2 separate regions of the Homo sapiens genome follow, and region 1 is linked to region 2. Evidence: promoter capture Hi-C in human tissues and cell types (Jung and others, 2019). All regions are on one chromosome and are shown on one strand. Each heading gives the region's core, a stretch centred on a gene start or on the middle of the fragment in contact. The rest is flanking DNA. Distances are from core to core; before and after follow the strand shown.

Evidence for each region. Contacts are between HindIII fragments. The study calls those that stand out against the background at their distance.
Region 1: a fragment that was not itself captured here is called in contact with the fragment with the promoter of NTN4 in region 2 in 1 of the 25 tissues and cell types used here (H1 embryonic stem cells).

Annotation. Positions count from the first base shown.
Region 1 is chr12:95,836,204-95,839,483 of GRCh38, reverse strand. All of the region lies in intron 1 of SNRPF-DT (SNRPF divergent transcript), which reads left to right. Among named protein-coding and RNA genes, the nearest start is that of SNRPF-DT, 21 kb to the left of the region's middle. RefSeq lists a silencer at 966-1,166. The HindIII fragment of the contact is 5,755 bases long and covers 1-3,280 here.
Region 2 is chr12:95,789,161-95,792,737 of GRCh38, reverse strand. NTN4 (netrin 4) reads left to right here and starts at 1,974. Exons shown (of 10, transcript NM_021229.4): 1 at 1,974-2,483. The coding sequence starts at 2,429. It also overlaps the pseudogene RNU6-247P. The HindIII fragment of the contact is 9,266 bases long and covers 1-3,577 here.

The DNA of each region.
Region 1 (3,280 bases), core at 353-2,852, 47 kb before region 2:
GAGCCTAGATCACACAATTTTACTCCAGCCTGGGCAACAAGAGCGAAACTCCACCTCAAAAAAAAAAAAAAAAAGTAATGCCATAATTTAAAATAATATTTACAAAGATTCTAATGACATGGGAAAATATAAGACATCAAAATATGTAAATAAATATTAATAATGTCAAAATATGGACATTTGAATATATGTGTCTAGAAAAACAGACTAAAAATAAACACCAAAATGTTATTAGTTGTTATGTTTAGGTTATGGGATTTGGGATGGTTAAATTTTCTTTATAATTTCCCGGGTTTTTCATTTTAAAAAATTTTGCCATTAGAAAGTGTGCCCTTGATAATAGAGAGATTATTTTTTAACTCAGTTAGCGTTAGGTCTTTAACATTTATGAATGCTTATGCCCATAACTATTCGTTCACAATTATGTTCCATACGATGGATTTACAGAATATGGTCACCATGACCCTGAAGTCACTTGCATACACACTAATTTAAACATGTAAATGTTCATTCAAGAATATATTCATCTGGCCAGGTGCAGTGGCTCACACCTGTAATCCCAACACTTTGGGAGGCCGAGGCAGGCGGATAACGAGGTCAGGAGTTTGAGACCAGCCTGGCCAACATGGTGAAACCCCATCTCTACTAAAAATACAAAAATTAGCTGGGCATGGTGATGCATGCCTATAATCCCAGCTACTGGGGAGGCTGAGGCAGGAGAATGGCTTGAACCCAGGAGGCAGAGTTTGCAGTGAGCCATGATCGTGCCACTGCACTCCAGCCTGGGTGATAGAGCAAGACTCCATCTCAAAAAAAAAAAAAAAAAAAAAAAAAGAATATATTTATCTGAGGAGATTAGCCAGTGAATCTTTCCTTTAAGAGGTGGTGGAAATGTATTCATTTTTAAAGTTAGCATTGGTAATATTAGAATAATAATAATCTAAACAATATCTTGTGCTATAGTCAGGTGTGAGCAGGGAAGGAGAGGGCTCCCCCACTACTCACACACCAGGTGTGTCGGGAGGCCATCCTGTGAGGTCAGGCGGTTGTTAACTGTTTCTCTACAGTAATAATTGGTCACAGCTGGCACTAGGGAAAGACAGTCTCGTACCAGATAGAAAACAGCTGAAACTGGTGATCAGCAGCTTCCGGATCAGATCTCAGCGTTGGATGAGCAGGAGAAGCAACGCAAGACCTCGGAAGCCTGCCAAGGTATAAAACCCCAAGTCAAAAGTTCAAACCGTGCTGGTCTTTCAAATCGCCCGCTTGGCCCTCTTTCAAGTGTACTTTCCTTCCTTTCCTTCCTGCTCTAAAGCTTTTGAATAAACTTTCACGCCTGCTCTAAAACTTGTCTTGGTCTCTCCTTCTGCCCCTCAGTCAAATTGTTTCTTCTGAGGAGGCAAGAATTGAGGTTGCTGCAGACCCAGATGGATATGGATTCTCCACCGCTAACAGGGCTATATACACAATTAATATTAATCATTCTGTTATAATCAAAATCATCCAGCAGAATTTCAGAATCTTGCAAAAGTTGACCATAATGTATCATATGGTCTTTTCCTCAAACCTCCTCCCCCCTCACCGCCGCCCTTTGTTTTAAGACAGTGTCCCACTCTGTCGCACAGGCTAGAGAGCAGGGGTGTGATCACAGCTTACTGCAGCCTCAAGCTCCCGGGCGCAAGTGATCCTCCCATCTCAGTCTCCCAAGTAGCTGGAACTACACCCATCACACACATTTTAAAATGTTTTATTAAGACAGGGTCTCATTACATTGCCTAGGCTGGTCTTGAACTCCTTGGCTTAAGGAATCCTCTTGCCTCAACCTCCCAAAGTGCTGGGATTACAAGCCTGAGCCACTGAACCTCTCCCTCTCTCCCTCTCTCCTCCCTCATCTCTCTCTCCCTCTCTCCCTCTCTCCTCCCTCTCACATCTCTCCCTTTCTCCTCCCTCCCTCTCTCCTCCCTCCCTCTCTCCATCTCTCTTCCCTCCCTCTCTCATCCCTCTCTCTCTCCTCCCTCTCTCCACCTTCTCTCCTCCCTCTCCGCCCTCTCTCCCTCTCCGCCCTCTCTCCCTCTCCTCCCTCTCTCCATCTTTCCCTCTCTCGTTTCTCTCTCCTGCTCTCATCCCTCTCTCCCTCTTTCTCTCTCTCCTCCCTCTCTCCACCCTCTCTCCTCCCTCTCTCCTCCCTCTCTCCCTCTCTCCCTCCTCCCTCTCTCCCTCTCCGTTTCTTCCTCTTTCCCTCTCTCCTTGTCTCTCTCCTCCCTCTCTCCCTCTCTCTCTCCTGCATCTATCCCTCTTTCCCTCTCTCCTCCCTCTCTCCCTCCCTCATCCCTCTCTCCCTCCCTCACCCTTCTCTCCCTCTTTCTCTCTCTCCTCCCTCTCTCCACCCTCCCCCTCTCTCTCCTCCCTCTCTCCCCGTCTCCTCCCTCTCTCCCTCTTTCCCTCTCTCCTCCCTCTCTCCCTCTTTCCCTCTCTCCTCCCTCTCTCCCTCTTTCCCTCTCTCCTCCCTCTCCTCTCCATCTCCTCCCTCTCTGCTCTCTCTCTTTCATTCTCAGGTTGCACACACTTACACTCCAAAGACTTATCTTTTAAGCACACTTCACCAGTAAACAAGGAAGCTGGCATTAACTCAAGCCAACACATTCCCTGCTTTCTGGACATTATAACATCTTGAGCCACAGTCCCTTCTGCATCTGAGTAAGTTTCCAGTATTTACCCACATTTCTGGCTGAGTTAACTCTCTCCTGCTGGGCAAGAAGATGAAAGTGAGATGAGATGGGGAGAGGAAATGTATAGAATGTGGATTTTAAACCAAGTATCTTCACCTATCCAAATAGGAACAGGACAGATATTTAGCCTTCCCTGAGCAGACGGGATGAAATAGGTAGTGAAGATCCTCTTTTTATTTGGACATAACGTTTGAAGTAGTTTCAGAGTGAAGAATTCAAGATTGTTTCCCTACTGCTGTTCAAAGTCTGTTTGCTACTTAATTACATTCACGAATGCTCATTCATAAATCGTTTGAAGAGATTAACTGGAATGATGCCCAAGGCAGCATATGCCTTTTCCAGGCAAGAATAAGGATACACTCAAGTATGTGAATATGGACAATAGGCAAGCCAGCATAATGACACACTTGTTTCATGAGTCATTTTAATTAAATAATACATGAGCAAATACTGAGTAAGGCCTTACTCCATGACAAATAATAGGAATTTGTATGAGATCAAAGAAGATCATGTTTTCATAGATAATTTGATATATTTGTGGTCCATTTGTG
Region 2 (3,577 bases), core at 725-3,224:
GAAATAAGAGCCAGTTATTCAGCAAAGAAATATATTATCAATGCAGGATTCGTGCAGACAGTAAATGGCTTTGAAATTTGTAATGAGATATGGAGTAGTTCTGTGATTGCTTTGGCAGCACATATGCTAAAATTGGAACAATACAGAGAAGATTAGCATGGCCTCTGCATGAGAATGGCATACAAATTTGTGAAGCATTCTATATTTTTAGCAATATATTGTACTCTTGAAAAATGCTAAGACAGTGAGTGTATTCTTAAATGCATGTTAATATGCAAAAATGCATATGTTCATTGGCTAGATTTAGTCATTCCACGCTGTATACATATTTCAAAACATCATGTTGTACATGATAAATACATACAAGTTTATTTGTTAATTAAAAAACAGAAATGGATTAGTTCTGCCTAAATATACTAGACTCAGAAGTTAATAATAAATGTGCATCCACCCCTTTGTTTAATTTGCCTTGGCTATTAAGTTAACATTTATGCTAAGAACCTTTGGCTGTTATAGTTTCCTATCATTTATTTGGTAAAAAGATTAATTGGAGAGGTGTTTCAATGGCTCCATTAGGAGATATGAAGAAAGCCCCACCATTGCCAGTATTTGGGAACTCAAAGCGTTTATTTTCTAAAGCAGGTGATGCTACATGAATTGCTGTCCACACCTTCTGCTACTTTCCTCTGTTGGCCAGAAGAATAATTTTAATGTCGCCCAAATGGATTATGCTGACCTCAACCCAGATCCCCCTGGGAGATATAAACTTCTTATATGTTCCTGGCTGGGTCATTGTAAATAATATCTACATGTATCCCAAAGCTCTGAATTATCCTCATCTGTAACAGACACAACGACTAAATGGTATCTGGAACGTAGTTAATTTTCTGGAAAATATTCAAAGGAACAAAATGAGCACTGCAATACAAAATTGCTGTCGACTTAACTTTTGCCAGTTTCCCTGGATGTGTAAGTAGAATTATATTTTCACAGAACTTGCAAAAATCTCAGACTCGGCTGCTATTTAATCTCTTTCCAGAAGCACCAGCCCTGAGCAATCCTATCTGCAATTAGCTGCGTGTGGTTGCTACTAAATTGCTCCCCATAAGTTAGTTCCTAACACTGTTTCACAGCACGGCATACTCTATAAAGGGAGAACGCTTGGAAGGACCGAAGAGTTCCCTTTGTCGTGCCCTTGCCCTGCCTCTGGACAACGATGTTCTTACACTGCCGACTAGCTAATCCTGTGACCCTTTTCTTTCAGCACCTTGAGTTTGAGTTAGGCAATACCTCTTACACCAAAGTGGGCACACCTTCGGATCATGTAGGCAGCGATTGTTTAGCCGAGACATCCCCCTACCCCCGCAAAAGGCAGCAGAGAAGCGGCGAACGCCGCTTAGCAGTTGGCGCGCTCTCAGTGCGGGTGACGCGGGGCTGGGTTGGGGTGTTCCGTCCCCGGGTCGTGGGACTCCCCGAGAGGGGGTGGCTGGAGGAGGAGGGAGGGCTTGTTTCGCTGGGGGATGTGGGAAGTAGGCGCTAGCCTGTTTCGCGGTTTTTTAAGCCCCTTGGCATGCCCTGACCTGATCTAGAGGGAGTCTACTGCTCTTAGGAATGTTCCGGGAGAAGGTGGGAGATTGCTTCCCAGGGGAGGCCTGTGGGTGCTGCAGGGCACCAGGGGGGTCACTAGGGAGATGCAGGGCGCGGGCCAGGAGGGGCGCCAGGGCAGCCGGGGGCCAGGCTGAGGCGACCGGGACCAGCGGGCAGCCGGGCGTCGGGGGCGTCGGTCGGGGCGCGGGGGACCCCCCCCCCGGGCGGCAGCGGCAGCGGCGATCCGATCCCGCGGGCTGCGCCGCCCGGGCTGTCAAGCGCGGGGGGCGGGCGGGAGGAAGGGGTGGAGGTGCGAGGGGAGGAGGGCTGGCACCGGAGCGCCGCGGCGTCGGTGCAATAAAAATGCATCGCATGGAACTGCCCGTGGAGAAGGACGGGACGGAGCCGGGGCAGCCAGAAGAGGTGGGAAAAGCGGAGGAGGACGCCCAGGAGGAGGCGGCGGCGGCGGCCGGGAAGTGAAAGGTCTCGCAAAGTTCAGCGGCGGCTGCGGGCGCCGAGCCCCGGGCTAGCGGCAGACGAGCCCGCAGGGCCGCTCCGCGGGGCAGCGCAGCCAGGCCGGCTATGGTCCCGGGGCTCCCGCCGCCCCCCAGGTGCCCGGGACCCGCCAGGCCGGTGCGCGAGGGTCACCCCACCTCCCCGCGCGGTCCCGGCCCCTGGCTCCCAGCTGCCGGCGACCGCTGACCGAGCCCGGCGCCCCAGGAGGAGGAAGAAACCAGGGCCCCGTTCCCTCCCGAGGACGGCGGCGCTTCATCCCGCAGCCCAGAGGTCTCGGCTCCCTCCGGCACCCGCCCGGCCCGGCTGCTCCCGGCTCCTCCCGGCCATGGGGAGCTGCGCGCGGCTGCTGCTGCTCTGGGGCTGCACGGTGGTGGCCGCAGGTGGGTGGTGACGCGGCGGGGCCCCCACCCCTTCCCTCGCTGCTTCTCTAACCCATCTCGGGACTCGGGGGTGCAGGGGAGCCAGGGCTGCGAGCGCAGAGCGCTGCTCCCGAGGGTGAAATGAGTGGCCATGTTCCGCCTCCTTTCCCCGGGGCTCCGCAGTTTCAAATACTATTGATTTATTTTTACAACTGGGATACACATGCGCTTGGATAACCAGCTATCCTGGGTGCGCCCTGCCGGGGATACTGCGACCGGGGTTTCTTTCTTGGTTTGGCTTGTTAAAAAACTGCTTTTCCACTTGGTGAGGGAACAAAGGACCCAGCTCGCCATCCCCCGGCACTTCATGGCCTAAGGAATGATGAGGAGGGGTGGCCCAGCGACCCTGGGCGCGCGTGGGCTGGGGCCGGTCTCTGGTAGAAGCCCATCGCTGGTGTCCCTGACCTGGTGCTGGGTACTAGAGAACCAGGTAAGGACACCTGGGGCAGGGCTGAGCGCCCTCTCCCCGGAGCAGTGACTGGAACGCAGTGGGACTCCTGGCTTGGACGATAGGTGGTGATCACCCCGGGCTTGCATTGAGCTGGCTGGCCGCCCCTGGGGAATTGGTACCCTGGCAGAGACTCTGCGGGAGGTCGGAGGCGGGTCTGCTCCCTGGCTCGGTAACTGGACAACCGGCGTCGGCGTCGGCAGATGCCCTCTCCCTCCCACTCCCATCCTGGCTTTCTTGGGCTGCCCTAGGCCACCGGCTCCTGGCTCGTGGTTTCTGTATTCGGGAGCCCCTTCTGCTCCTCTCCCTCCCTCTTGCGGGTCACCTGGTTTCCAGTTAGGCGTAAGCGCAGCCCTGTAGGTGAGGGGGAGAGATGTGAGGGAGTCTGCAGACATCCAGTCTCTCGTGCGGATCTTGACTGCTTCAGAAAGGGGCGCCTGGGCTAGAGGGATGCGCTGGTGGCTACAGAACATTGTAGCACGCATCTCCTCCCTTGGGCTTCCACTCTTCCCTGAGGGCCGCTGGCACCCAGCAAAATCCAGGCTTTCCAGTCTGCATCCCAAACCAGTCCAAGTCACAGGAGCATCCTTAGTATCATTGAATAGTC